Regions from separate parts of the Homo sapiens genome. Here all the other regions are linked to region 2. The links are contacts of gene promoters, found by promoter capture Hi-C in human tissues and cell types (Jung and others, 2019). All regions are on one chromosome and are shown on one strand. The core of a region is centred on a gene start or on the middle of the fragment in contact, and the rest is flanking DNA. Distances in the headings are between cores, read along the strand shown.

The links. Contacts are between HindIII fragments. The study calls those that stand out against the background at their distance.
Region 1: a fragment that was not itself captured here is called in contact with the fragment with the promoter of SLC35G1 in region 2 in 1 of the 25 tissues and cell types used here (mesendoderm cells).
Region 3: a fragment that was not itself captured here is called in contact with the fragment with the promoter of SLC35G1 in region 2 in 2 of the 25 tissues and cell types used here (adrenal gland and mesenchymal stem cells).

Annotation. Positions count from the first base shown.
Region 1 is chr10:94,194,312-94,199,247 of GRCh38, forward strand. All of the region lies in intron 4 of PLCE1 (phospholipase C epsilon 1), which reads left to right. Among named protein-coding and RNA genes, the nearest start is that of PLCE1-AS2, 88 kb to the left of the region's middle. The HindIII fragment of the contact is 7,030 bases long and covers 1-4,929 here.
Region 2 is chr10:93,891,667-93,896,566 of GRCh38, forward strand. It overlaps SLC35G1 (solute carrier family 35 member G1), which reads left to right and starts at 2,312. Exons shown (of 3, transcript NM_001134658.3): 1 at 2,312-2,545. The coding sequence starts at 2,368. RefSeq lists silencers at 2,286-2,715, 4,201-4,250. The HindIII fragment of the contact is 9,096 bases long and covers 1-4,713 here.
Region 3 is chr10:94,232,256-94,237,326 of GRCh38, forward strand. It overlaps PLCE1 (phospholipase C epsilon 1), which reads left to right. Exons shown (of 33, transcript NM_016341.4): 6 at 1,799-2,057; 7 at 3,660-3,865. Among named protein-coding and RNA genes, the nearest start is that of PLCE1-AS1, 52 kb to the right of the region's middle. The HindIII fragment of the contact is 3,973 bases long and covers 108-4,080 here.

The DNA.
Region 1 (4,936 bases), core at 165-2,664, 300 kb after region 2:
TCATTTTTTGTCCCTATGGTAATACTAAGAGACAGCCCTCTGTTCTTAATTTTTTAGTTGCTCTTCACTGCTGACCAAGAGGTGTCCAGGCATTTTAACCACATTCAAGGCTTGTCTCTGCAATGTAGCTGTCCTGTTTTCTCCCCATTAATCACTTCATGCCCCTTTTACATCTGTCTACCCGGATGACTCACTGTTGGATTGTACAGGAAGAGGCAAAGACTCTGCACAATTCCAGAGGGCACTGTTCACTTAGTGCACAAGACAGTAGCCCTGGGTAAGAGCCCTGGCTCAGATTTGAATTCAGATCCAAGGCTCACCACTTACTTTCAGTGTGACTCCAGGCAAGTTTCCTAACTATTGTATTCTTCAGTCTCTTCATCTGTAAAGTGGTGCTTATAACATTGATCTAATATGTAGGGATGTTGCAAGAATTAAAAGAGAATTTGAGGAAATGTGTTTACCAAGGTGATTGACCCTGAATCAAGCACTCAATAACTAATGATGATGATAATAATTCTAGACAGCTAATAGCTTGTAATGATTTACTTTTAGAACAGATAAGAAAATTTTCCTTGCTTCCAATACTATCATATTTTAAACTCCATTTAGAGGCTACCAAGAAGTTTGGGGGAAACAGGGGCCACCATTTTGAACTCCTTGATGATTACAAAGGTGGTAGATAGTGGTGCTGATATTAGGGTTGGTTCTACTGTCTTTATCTGGATTCATAGAATATAGGAACTTTATCTAAAGTAAAGTTTTCTCAACACTCTTTGGCCCAGAATGTTAAAGAAAAAAACGTTGTATCCACATTTAATATGATTTGAAACTTCAAAATAGATTTGCTAGCATGAATAAAACCATTTATAACGCTGAATATATACTTCAGAAACATAGCATGTTCTCCCCTCCTCTAGCTACCCTGCTCTAACCCTGTCCAAGACTGTCATCATCTCCTCCCAAGCTGAGAGTCACTGCCTTAGAGAGAAAGGGCAATGGGCTGGTCCGGATTTCTAATAGGGCTCTTCCAGTTCTAGGAGTTTGTGATTTGGGGACTAAGTGCCTAAACCCTGGAGAGCCAAGCCTTCTCCAAACAAGAAAGAAGTCCCTGTGTAAAGAGACATGAGAAATGAAATAGAAGCAGAAGTTTGGATCTAGGAATGTCACCCTAAGAATTAGGGGCTCCTTTTTTTTTTAAGAGGAATGATATGACACAACTCATGTTGTAGGAGGATAACACTTCACTTGGTGATTTCCTTTCTCTGGGATGTTGAAACTAATAGAAAAAGATCATGACATTCATGTAACTCCCTGAAGATTTTGAAGACTTCTTTCTTAGAAATCCTTAAGAAAGCAATACATACCCACCTGCTTGCAATAGTTTTAGGACTATTAGATGATGCTAATCATTATCTCTAATAGTTAAATAACTCTGGATATGAAATCCTGACTTTTGGGAATTTCTTTGATATCTGTACTATACATCTAAAAAAGGTCAGGGAAACTTTGAACAGGATTATGAGTCTAGGCCTTTTGTTCTGTCTCTAGCCAGCTGTGTCATATTGATCAAATCTTTTAGCCCCTCTGAACATCAGTTTCTGCCCCATAAGATAAAGAATTAGGCCAGATGATATCTAATGCTTCTTAGAATTTAGACTCTAGAGTTTGAACTCTCAGAGTTTGAATCCCAGCCACATTGTTTATATGATCTACAAGTTACTAAGTCTTTCTAAGCCTTCCTTTGCCAGCCTGTCAAATGAGGATAATAATTCCTTCTAGTTAGGGTTGTTGTGATCAATAAAAGTCACCTATTGCTATTATAATCTTCTGATACTTAATGTATAAGGTGCATTGTAAGTAATACTGAATCCAAACTAACCTATATACACTACCTCCTTGCTATACACCTTCACTCTGGGCTCAGGGGCTTGCCTTCTATAGGGTGAGGGTTACAGTGAGAGTTTTGCTGTTGCTCTATCCTATGTATTATAGCATAAAGTGTTCTCTTCTTCGTTCCTTTGAGATAATGATTTCTTGTCTGATCCACCCTCAGCCTGGTTGTCACAGCTGGGTAGTGCCCCCAGAGAAGAAGCAGCTGTAGCCCCAGGAGAAGCTCCGAGGGGAAGAGCCTTTTAAAGTGGAAAAGGAGGATCTATAAGCTACCTTTCAGGTGCAAGACTTAGAGAGAGGGCCAGGCATGGTGGCTTATGCCTATAATTCCAGCACTTTGGGAAGCCAAGTCAGGAGGATCACTTGCAGCCAGGAGTTCAAAACCAGCCTGGGCTTTGCTGACCCATCTCTAAAATAAATAAATAAATAAAATTTAAAAATAAAAAAAGACTTTGAGAGAGAGGACCCCACTCAGGTATAATGAGGTGGGACTCACCAGCCCAGAACACCCAATCCCCACCCCTTCTAGAAGTGTTGCTAGAAGTAGAGAAAGCACTCTACTTTCTATACAACATATCTTTTTGGTTTGCCTGTTGCTTTCTGTTTGATATTTGTAACAGCTTTATTGAGATACAATTTATATACTGTATAATACATACATTTAAAGTATACAGGTCAGTGGCTTTTTTCATATATTTACGGACTTGTATAATCATCACCATAAATCAATTTTAGGATATGATGATCACCCCAAAAAGAAACCACATACCCACTAGCAGTCACTCCCCATTCCTCCCTAACTGCAGCTCCTGGAAAATAGTGATCTCATTTCTGTCCCAATGGATTTGCCTATTCTGGATATTTTGTATAAATTGAATCACACAATAAGTGGCCTTTTTTGTCTGGCATCTTTCACTTAAGATAGTGTTTTCAAGGTTCATCAGCATTGTAGCATGAATCAGTACTTCATTTCTTTTATGGCTGAATAATATTTCATTATGTGCGTATACCACATATTGTTTATTGGTAAAAATAATGATGGCCATTTGAATTATGTATACTTTTTGGCCATTACAAATAGTGCTGCTATGAAATTCAAGAAAAATGTTTGAGCATATGTTTTTATTTATCTTGAGTATGTACCTAGGAGTGGAATTGCTGGGTCATACAACTCAATGTTTAGCATTTTGAGGAATTGCCAAACTGCTCCAAAGTGTCTGCACCATTTGACATTCCCACCAACAATGTATGAGGGTTCTGATTTATCCACATTCCTATCAACACTTGCTAGTCCTACAACACATACCTACAGCCATCCTAGTAGGTATGAAGTGATACCTCATGGTTTTGATTTCATTTTCCTAAATAGCTAATGATGTTGAGTATCTTTTCACCTGCTTATATTTGTATATCTTCTTTGGATAAATCTCTGTTCAAATATTTTCTGGCAATATTTCTGACAATGAAGCGTGACATTAAGATATAATCTCATTCTTGGCTGGGTGCAGTGGCTCACGCCTGTAATCCCAGCACTTTGGGAGGCCAAGGCAAGTGGATCACCTGAGGTCAGGAGTTCAAGACCAGCCTGGCCAACCTGGTGAAACCCCATCTCTACTAAAAATACAAAAATTAGCTGGGCATGGTGGCGGGAGCCTGTCATTCCAGCTACGTGGGAGGCTAAGGCAGGAGAATCACCTGAACCTGGGAGGCGGAGGTTGCAGTGAGCCAAGATTGCACCATTGCACTCCAGCCTGGGTGACAGAGCAAGACTCTGTCTCAAAAAAAAAAAAAAAAAAAAAAAAAAAATTTAAGAACATGAAAGAGCTGATGATGAAACCTGTTGGATGAACTGATGAACCACCCCCCACCAAAAAAAAAAAAGATATAATCTCATTCTTTATAGATTGGCTGTTGTCATTCTAAGTCTTTGACTATGAATGTATATGCTAGGTGGGGGAAGTAAGAGCCCACTTCCAAGTATGAACAAGAAGAGAGGGATCAGCACTTAGGGTTCCCACTCTGGTCTGGGATTATATGTATAAACAGGATAGAGAGAAAATCAGTTTTTTCCTGAATATGTGTTCATTCTCAACAGAAGTCTGGACTGGAAGGTAGAAGATCTAGGCTCAATTCCTGCTTCTACTTGGCAAATATGAATAAGTTGCTTAGTAGGTAATTAGCTTCTTTGAACCTTTCTTTTCATCCTCCCCTTTTCAGTTATCTTCTTTCCTTTTTTAAATTGAACTATAATTTACATACAATAGAATTTGCCTTTTGGCATGCAGTTTGAATTTTGACAATGCATACAGTTGCGTAATGACCACCACGATCAGGATAGAGAATATCATTACAAAGGGATGATACTGATCCCAAAAGTTTTCATCCCAAAAGTTCCTTTTGCCTCCTTTGTAGTCATTCCTCCCCTATCTCAAACCTCTGGGATCTGATTTCTCTTTTTATCCTTTTGCCTTTGACAGAATGTAGCAGAAATAGAATCTTACAGTAGGTAGTCTTTTGAGCCTGGCTTTCTTCATTTAGAATGATGGATTAGAAATCCCTCAGCCAGGCATGGTGATGCACACCTGTTAATCCCAGCATTTTGGGAGGCCAAGGTGGGAGTATCACTTGAGCTCAAGAGTGTGAGACCAACCTGGGCAAATCCTCATGTAAAACCTCCTGTCTACAAAAAACACAAAAATTATCTGGGCATGGTGGCACGCACCTGTAGTCCCAGCTACTTGGGAGGCTGAGGTAGGAGGATCGCTTGAGCCCAGGAGGTTGAGGCTGCAGTGAGCTGAAGTCACACCACTACACTCCAGCCTGGGTGACAGTGAGACCCTGTCTCAAAAAAACAAGAAAAAAGAAATCCCTCAGTGTTACTGTATGTGTCAATAATTTGTTCTGAGTAGCATGTCATTATATGAATCTACCATAGTTTATTTATCCATTTACCAGTTGAAGGACATTTATTTTCAGCTTTTATGCCATTATTAATTGGCCACTAAAAGCATTCTCAAATAGGTGAATGTAGGTTTTTTCTTGG
Region 2 (4,900 bases), core at 1,062-3,561:
TTTTTTTTTTTTTTTTTTTTTTTTTTTGAGACAGTCTCGCTCATGTTGCCCAGGATATAGTGCAGCAGCGTGATCTCGGCTCACCGCAACCTCCGCCTCCTGGGTTCAAGTGATTCTCCTGCCTCAGCCTCCTGAGCAGCTGGGATTATAGGCACCCGCCATTACACCTGGCTAATTTTTGTATTTTTAGTAGAGACGGGGTCTCACCATGTTGGCCAGGCTGGTCTCGAACTCCTGACCTCAAGTGATCTGCCCTCCTCGGCCTCCCAAAGTGCTGGGATTACAGGCCAGCTTGGTCCGCACTTTTCTCATTGGTTGCCTTTTATGTCAGCATGGCTGTCAGCTAAATGGGAGAATGAATATAACTGATACCATTTATATATGAAGGTCAGCAGTGGAGGGGAAGGAAGTTAAAGGGAATAAACAGCAGGTATGAAATCATCTCACCACCTTTAATAACTGGTGTAGTACCCATTTTCTTCTCTTCTTCTTCTCCCTTTTCGAGGATGGTGTTGAAAGTGTTGAAAGTGGAGCAGTCAGGGTACTTCCTTCTCAAATCATCACACTTCTTTCTTCTTTACCACACTTCCTAGCCATAATCTTCACCATTTAAGAGGAGGGGACTCTTCAAACCCTTTCCATATCGAAATCTTAGAATGCAATTGTGAAACTGCACTTGACTTCCCAGATATTTGAGGAAGCTTCCTGGTTCTTGCTTTATAATCATGATCTACCACCCTTACCATCCTTCCCTGAAATTTCCCTATCTAAAACAACGACAACAAAACCTGTTACAGATATTTTTGTAAGTAGCCTTAAATTCTTTTAAAAGTATTATTATTTTTTTTATAGAGACAAGGTCTATGTTGCCCAGGCTGGTCTCAAACTCCTAAGCTCAAGCAATCCTCCCACCTCAGCCTCCCGAAGTGCTAGGATGGTAGGCTGAGCCACCGTGCCCAGCCTTAAATTCTCTTTTAAGACAAGGCAAAAGTATGTGTTAATCAAGTTAGAATTCAGGTGACCATTTGTCTCAGTTTGCCTAGGACAGTCCCAGTTTATGCCTATTCCCTTGTGTAACTTTTAAAAGAGCTCCTCCTTTTACTCTTAAAAAAAAAAAGGTCCAGTTTGGAGGATAAATTATATGCTGACCCTAGTTTAAAACACACTTTGATTTTCTAACATAGTGTTTTCCAGGTGATATTATGCTTTTGCCCACATCATTGCATTTTATTTACATAACTACTCTGCGAAGCAGGAAGGGAAATACTTGATCGCTATTAAATAAAGGAGGTAATCAAGGCTTCGAGGGGTACAGTGGTGACTGAGGTCACACACTCAGGGCCAGAACCTAGGATTCCTGACTTCAAGTCTAAAACTGTTTCAGCTGTGGATCACTATGTGCAAATGTCTGAGTAAAGGCAAACTTCACTCTCCTTTGGTGATCTGCTTGGCACTGGACTTAGAAGTTTAGATACGTTCATCCTTGCACAGAGACTGTTCTTCCACATATAAAGCAAGCAAAGAGATGGAAGAAGAATTATTAGCTAAACAAAAAGAGGCTGTTAGTGAATCCTGGGCCAAAGAATATATTTTACCAGGTCTAATTACATCAGATTACTTGAATCTTACATCTGGCCAAATTAGGATATTTCCATTTAAGAAAAGAAAACCAAAGATCAATAATGCATGCCTACTCTTGCAAAGAATGCAAAGAACATATAAATGGGTTCTGGTCAGTCTTATAGATATATTTTCCTATAATTACACACTAATTCTTTCTTAAAAATATTTCCCAAAACAGCAAAATTCTACCCTCCTTGGTAAGCAGCAAAGGGACAACACGGGAAACAAAACAAAACAAAACAAAACAAAACAAAACATAAAAACCCTAGACCATTTAAAGACAAGCATGGTGCTTTGTAAAATCTTCGGGGTATCACAGAGGTGCTGAATGCGTGGTTACATCAATGAAAAAACGCCCACTCTTTGAGCCTCCTGAAAAGGAGGCCACAGGACCCCCGGGCGCCAGGGCTTGGGAACCCAGCGCCCCTCCTTGTCTGTGCCATGACAGACAGGTTCAGTGTGACTTGCCAAGGATGGCTCCAAGCAGCTGGGCCATGTAGCCTGAACGCAGCAGAGGGTTGGACGCCTTAGAGCCAGCTGTGGGCACCACAGCCCGACCAGGGAGGCAGCGGGTCTCCCCAGGTTAAGAGGCCAGCGGAGGACGCGCGCGGTCTCCTTGGGGGAGGGTGCGGGTGGGCCGGGCGCGCATGCGCATGGGCGCCATCGCCCGCCGGAAGAGCGGCAGCCCAGGCGCTGCTGCTGGCGCCAGACGGCACCGGCCGCTGGTAGAGCGCGTGCCGCGAGATGCGGCCTCAGGACAGCACCGGGGTCGCGGAGCTCCAGGAGCCCGGGCTGCCGCTAACGGACGATGCACCCCCGGGCGCCACTGAGGAGCCGGCGGCCGCCGAGGCAGCTGGGGCGCCAGACCGCGGTAGGTGCTGGCTCTGCCTTTCCTCGCCGTGTTGCTCCCGCACCGAGCCGGGTGAGTGCGCGGTGTGGATCGGGCTCTGGTCTCGCTCGGGGGTCCCGAGCGGGCGCCGGCGGGTTGGGGTCCCCGCAACCCGGGCACAGTGCCCGCCGCGCCTCCGTCCCCACCCTGCCCGGGGCTCGGGAAACCCCTCGAGCTGTCAGCTGGGGGGCTGCAAAGCGGAATTCCCGGCGCCCCAGCCGGCGCTAAGACGGAAGAAACTTTCCGATTGTTAGCAGTCCTTTTGGGATTCCGAGGCTGCTCCTGTAATTAGTGTCGGGGCAGGGCTGTGGAGTCAGACTGCAGTTTGGCGTACCCTCCCCTAGGTCGTAGGTGGGGGGTCAGCGAGAGAGGCCATCCTGCAGTGGGGCGACGTTGCGAGGAAGCTGACCCTGAAAAGTGATCCCGGTGGTTAAGGGTTCTCTCCGAAAAGGAAGCTGAAAAGCATCGAGTCTAGAAAAAATGTTCGTCCTAGAGTTTTAGAATCTTGGAAAGGCAGAGATAAGTGGGACCGCTAGTTTTTAACCTTTAGGGATACAAGGACTTTTTAGCAAACGATGCAGAACAAGGCATATCTTGTTAAGAAGCTCACAGCCCCGTCCCCAAAGTCAGGGACCCCTCGTGAAGAACACTTTATGTTCAGTCCCCCTCCTTCGACACATGAGCAAAGTGAGGCCCAGGAAGGTGAGGGCTTTTGGGTTTTCGTTTGCTTTGTCTCCTCCAAGATGTGGAACGTGGGGGTGAGATGGGGCGCATGTCCAGGGAGCACCAGGGTTAGGATCCCAGCTTGCCATATACCGGCCTAGGGCCCTTTCCACTGGCCACAAGTGCTGCTTCAAGCACATTCCTCTTAGAAGTCGACCATCTACCAGGAGCAGCTTCCTGCAAGAAGAAGGGAATAGGCAGATCTCTTTTTAGGACAGTTACACGGCCTGCACCACCTTGTCCTCTGGGTCACCTCCCCTAAGTGTGACCCTGGATTTCTGTTCCTCTCCTCTCACTGCGCTTTCCCCTCCTCCCTTTGTGCACTTTCCCCAAGTTAGAGAGACAGACTCTAGGAAGACTATTCTTGCTCCATTTCTGTCCTAAAGGCAAACCGAAATGATCAGACTTGTGATCATTTATAAATGGGCTGGTGCCTCTAGAACAGGGGTTATGCCAGGCTGAATTGAACAGATAAGCAGCCTTTGAAAAGGTCAGTTTCTCACCTATCACCCTCTGGGTGAATGTCCTTCTGGTGGCATGCCGAATCAGTCCATGCAAACTCTTAAAGTTTCCCCTTTTTGTGAATGGAAGAGGAATTCTCTACTCCCAGGCAGCTCATGGCAAGATGAGAAACTTACGTGAGTGTATCTAAGAATCTTGTGGGTGTTTAACTTCAAAGAAAGTTTCTACCAGTAAGACTTAGTTATTGTAAGGTGACAAGATAATATTTTGGAAAGAAAATTGACATAAAAACACTTTACTGTTGTCATTGAACTTTGTGACACCTCTTGTTCTAACTGCTTATCTCAACAAAGCTTTTTTCAAGTTCTGGTTGGAACTGTTACCCATATGTCTTACATTCTTGGATGACCTTAACAGACACATACAGCTGTCCCAAGACATCTCCTTACTTTCTTCAGGGACAGTGTGGGTCTTACACTGAAGCAAGGAGAAGTAGTTTCTTAGGCCTGTGCCTCACATCCTCTGGAGGGAGTTAGTGATCGAGTGTAGCAGTGGTTCTCAAACTAGTGGAGCCTTTTAGAGTTACAGAGATTCTATTTCGGTGGGTCTGAGATGGGGCTTGAGAATTAATTTTTTTTTTTTTTGGAGATAGGGTCTTACTCTGTCACCAAGGCTGTGGTGCATTGGCGTGATCACAGCTCACGGCGACCTCAACCTCCTGGGCTTACTCGATCCTTTCATCTAAGTCTCCTGAGTAGCTGGGACCACAGGCACACACCACCACACCCGACTAATTTAAAAATATTTTTTGCATTGATGAGGGGGTTTCCCCGTGTTGCCCAGGGTGGTCTCAAACTTTTGAGCTCAAGAGATCCTCCCACCTTGTCCTCCCAAGGTGCTGGGATTACAGGCATGAGCCACTGCACCCAGGAATTAAAGTTTTAAGTGTTACTCAGGTGATTCTAATTCCCAACCAGGATTGCGAATCACCAGCTGAAAGCAGAGGATAGAGAAGCTGAGTAATTTTTCAGTTTTCTTCTAAGTGAGGAAATTACACCATGGCCACTTACCTAATTTGAATAATTTGAGTTACCAAATTATTAGATATGCTTGCAGTGAGATATGAACATGGAACCTAAACAAATGCCTCTTTCAGTTATGCTAGTCATGCTCATCTCCATTGACAGGATTGAAATGATTTAG
Region 3 (5,071 bases), core at 844-3,343, 340 kb after region 2:
ATATATTACACAGTGATTTTGTAACCCAGTTAATCTAAATCAAAATTTTAATATCTCATTCAATATATATCTTCTTCCCTTCCTTACGTTTCACAACCCAACCAGTCTCAGAGACTTGTAGTAGTGAGGAAGATAGAGTTTATCTTTTTTCTTCCTTTTCCCTGCAACTGGGTGTCTGCAGAAAAGAAGTGGACAGGAGAGGAGATGGGAAAGGATGGGGATAGAGGGAGCACAGAGTCTTACTTGATGGGGCAGTTGTAATCTGGCCTTGGTGCCCTCACAGAGACCAATGGAGGGTGCTTTTAGGTTTTCTTACTAGTTACTCTCTCTAATTTTTTCCATCTCCCCACTGCACAATTACCTAGCAAAATGCAGTGTACCCTCTGGTCAACCTCTTATTCCTCACCCCCTGGGGTCCTGTCCTCACAGGCCCTTTCTGCTAGGGTCGCCTCATTTGGCAGGCAGACCCTTCAAGACAGCTCAAGCCCCACCTCTTTGCACAGTATCCCCTCCTGACTCACAGGAAATAGTCAGCATGTTGCCCTCCCAACTCTGCAAGCACAGGACATATCTACTGGAATCCTCTCTCCCTTTGCCACCAGGGAGCTCCAGCTAGCCTCAAATCTTTAGGCAAGAGTCATGCACCAGTTCACGTGATCTACAGACTGCCCGGGACACAGGTCAATGTCCCCAGGGAATTCACTTACTGCCCCCTGCACTTGGGGTGACTTCATCCTCTCACAGAAAGGTGAGCTCTCCCACAATTCCCCCCAGAGAAATATTCCCAAGCTATCTGCTCAGATCCACTTTCTCTGCATGGGCTGAAAGAGAGTGGGAGACCACTGTGGGCAAAGCAGTTCAGGTAACACCTTGTGAGGGCCTCTCTTTAGAAGGTGTGGTGCATTGTCATCTGTGGGTCTCAGCAGGAGTTTCAGAATAGGGAAAGTCCCACTTAACATCCTGTAATGCAAATAATACTTTACAACAAGGTCCCCCAAAATGGGCTGGTGGCTTCATGTCAAAGCTTGATTCAGTAAAAATCAATTCTACAGAAGAGGTGAAAACAATGGGCTTCATGTTGATCACTAAGGGACTGGATTGATCCAAGAGTAATATTTAAAAGATCAAGAGGGCCAGATGGGCCAAGTTTCCCCAGGCAGTCCTCCTCCACCAATATCTGTACAAACCACATTACCCTCTACTTTCCCCTTTTGGCCATAGCTGCCAGAAAAACTCAAACCTACATTCAGTGCCCAGCTTCCATAACTAACGCGTCCCATATGCCTATTTGTGTTTGTATCTGTCCTATTTATTTTTCAGTTTCAATTTACAAAAGTATTATTCATATTATCTGGGGAAGTAGGTGGGGATAGGAACCCTACATAAATATTAACAAGTAAAGAATATTGGGGCTGGGCGCGGTGGCTCATGCCTGTAATCCCAGCACTTTGAGAGGCCGAGGCAGGTGGATCGCCTGAGGTCAGGAGTTCGAGACCAGCTTGGCCAACATGGCGAAACCCCGTCTCTACTAAAAATATAAAAATTAGCCAGGCATAGTGGCGCGCGCCTATAATCCCAGCTACTAGGGAGGCTGAGGCAGGAGAATCGCTTGAACCCAGGAGGCAGAGGTTGCAGTGAGCCAAGATCGCACCACTGCACTCCAGCCTGGGCAACAGAGTGAGACTCCACCTAAAAAAAAAAAATGGTAAAAAGAATGAATTTGTATGGAATTTAGGCTCCTTGCTGTAAACTATATTATTTCTCCTTCAGTCTGAAAAATGTCATTTACTTGCAATAGGTCAAGAAAAGTTTTAAAAATGTGGCAGTTCATGGACCAGTCTGATATTGAGACCATGAGGAGCCTGAAGGATGCTATGGCCCAGCATGAGTCCTCTTGTGAGTACAGAAAGGTGGTGACACGTGCCCTGCACATCCCTGGCTGTAAGGTGGTTCCATTCTGTGGGGTGTTTCTGAAGGAGCTCTGTGAAGTGCTTGACGGCGCCTCCGGTCTCATGAAGCTTTGCCCGCGGTACAATTCCCAAGAAGAAACTTTAGAGGTAAGGCCTTTCAGAATCATCGTGGCCTGAAGAGCCACTGTTGCTGGCTGTCTCATCAGGCCCTGTCTGTGCTCACCAAAGAAATGATCACTGATTGAACACAGGGTTAATAGTTGTTATATTATTTCTGGGTAGCACATAGATCCTTGGAAGTTCTGTAGAAAAGAATGCCAACTAGCGCTGTGTGGGACATAGTATTGTGAAGTTAGTTTTAATGTATTAGGTTTAATATGTAAGTACAAGTCAAAAAGGGTGTTGTTTTCTGATGGTTTTTAAAGATTGACAGGTTTTTCTTATTGGGTGGGAATGTCTGGATGCAGGGGATGAAGACAGTCAATTGAGAGTATTAAGTTTTCCACATCAGTGGAAGAAAAAAGAGGGGAAGTCAACACTGCTTTCTGTTCATCCTTTGTGGGAAAATGCTGGGGAGCCTGGAGACGCATGTAGAGACAAGCTCCAGGCTCCTGATCCTCAGAGCCTTGTTTCTCCCAGATCCATTGCCTCCTGTTCCTGATTCCCAGAGCAGAAGGGACAGTGTGAGCTTTGACCCAAGGCATTGGGCATTGGAGAGAAGGGGAGTTGAGAAACTGGAGGGAAAAGATAAGGAGGCTCCCTCCAAGGTGTTTAAAAATGAAAGAAGTGACTAAAATGGAAAGAACTTTATGGAGATTTTGAGAAGTCCCTTACCGGGGACCAAACCCAAATCTAGGATCATTCCTGCCATGATGACAGAACCTACTACTGACCTTTCACACACACACACACACACACACACACACACACACACAGAGTCATGTACATGCCTTCTCCATGGAGTGGGAAGACTCTCCTCAACCTTCAGCCTCTTCTTTGTCACCTGGGAGCAAAGGCATCACCTGATATCAGAAAGACTTAAGAGCTCCTGACAGGTACAGGCAACACCACCGGCATCTCTCTGGGTTATGAGCTAGGATAAAAGGGCAAGAAATGGAGGAGAAAGCTTAAAGGAAGACTCCCGGGCCACACCCCCTAGCTTCCTCATGTCTTAAGAAGAGGGAACTCCACATCTCTTATCCCAGACACAGCTCTCACCTCTGATGAGAGAAGCTTCCTAATCAACTGTATGAACAATAAGGCTTAAAGAGCTTAAAAACCAGGAAGAAGCCACTGTGTTATTATAGAACACATGAGCAATAAAGCAAAACATCACCTCTTCTCAGTGTTTTGCTTGGGCCCAGTCATTTTTTCTGGTTCCATAGAATAGCATACTTTACTCATGGTTTTTCTCAGTTCTCACTATAAGGATAAAATAACCATGCTCTTCCTCTGCAAATTGGCTAATCTTCTCCTTAGGGAGCCCTGAAATAATATTTTTTTTGTTTTAAATTTGAAGTGGAGTGTCGATTCCCAGAGGGATTAAAGTTGTCTCAGTGGAAACAAGGGTGAGTTTTGATATTTCATGTGGTGAAATGAAAAAATGTTTTTCCTGGAGGCTCTTGTTTTCTTTCCCATAAAATAGGCACAAATGCCATTATTTATTACTTTATGATTTCATTTCCCTAGCCAAGTATGTTATCCAGGCATATTAAGTTGCAATAGCAAATTCTCGATTTTTTTTTGTAGTTTGTAGCAGATTACAGTGGACAAGATAATTTCTTACAACGAGTGGGACAAAATGGCTTAAAGAATTCGGAGAAGGAGTCCACTGTCAACAGCATCTTTCAGGTCATCCGGAGCTGCAATCGAAGTCTGGAGACAGACGAGGAGGACAGCCCCAGTGAAGGAAACAGCTCCAGGAAAAGCTCCTTGAAGGATAAAAGCCGATGGCAGTAAGTTTTACACGTTAAAAGTGAGGAATGCTCATCTCTTCTTTTTTCCTGTTGATGAGTTGTTTCCTACTTCAGCTTAGTTTCAGATGGACACCTCATCAAAACCTGCCACTTTTATCATTAAGCCACACTTCTTTATCTTCAAACCTTACCAATTCCAAATTCACATTTACCTTTCTCATTTTGCTGCTTTGTTCTAAAATTACTGCTCATAATTTAACTTCTTACCATCTGTTACCCCTTTAAAAAAAAAACAAAAACCTAGAGCTATCCTGCCATTTCTAAGAATTCAACACATTAAATTTCAGAAGGAGAGCTGTGATCTTTTATTTCCTAGTTTTTGTAACAGTGGTTTTTTTAATTCTTGGGTGGGGTACTAGGGTGGGTATTAAGATATTTTTAAATCAAATCTACTGACTTAGTTAGGTCTGGGTGATACCTAGAAATCAGTATTTTTATCTCTGCCAACCTCTGGGTGATTCTAAGTCGAGGGTTAGTGATCTCACTTCGAGAAACACTGCTCTGTAAGGTGTGTTAAAATTAACCCTACACACACAAGGCATCTGCAGGTTTTTAAATTGCTCAGTAATTCCAGTTTCTCAGAGATTATTTCAAAGATTTTTCACTTAACAGGTTGCTAACATTAGTGGCAATCTATATATAGAGAGAAGACCATCTGCAAATAATCACCTCTGCACAGAAAGCCTCTCAGAGCCATTTAAGTTCTTAATCTCCCTCTCTCTCTCTCTCGGCATCTATGTATATATCTATTTCTTCCAACAAAAGATTTTGTAGATGCTTTTAAGAATAACTATGAATAATTGAGGATATTAAAGAAAAGAAAAATAAGAATATGAGAAAATAAAACATACAAAAATGTATACTATGTAGTCTATACAGTGACTAAATTTTGTTCTGAGATTCCTAGCAGTCAAAGGAAAGAGGAAATCACAATTCATTATAAGTTTCACAGTATTTGTAAGAAAAATTAAACAGATGTTTGGGAGAAGAATGCCTTCTCCTCATACTGGATCTGGCTGAAATTCCTTCCTTAAATCCTACTGTTAAGGCTAGGATACATCAGATAGGAATAGATAAAATAATGAATTTCATATGGCTCTTTTTAAAGAGCCTTCATCTTTAAAGATGAAGCTTTACAATGTGGCTTCATCTGGGGCTGTGTGTGTATGTCGTTTGACCTTTCTA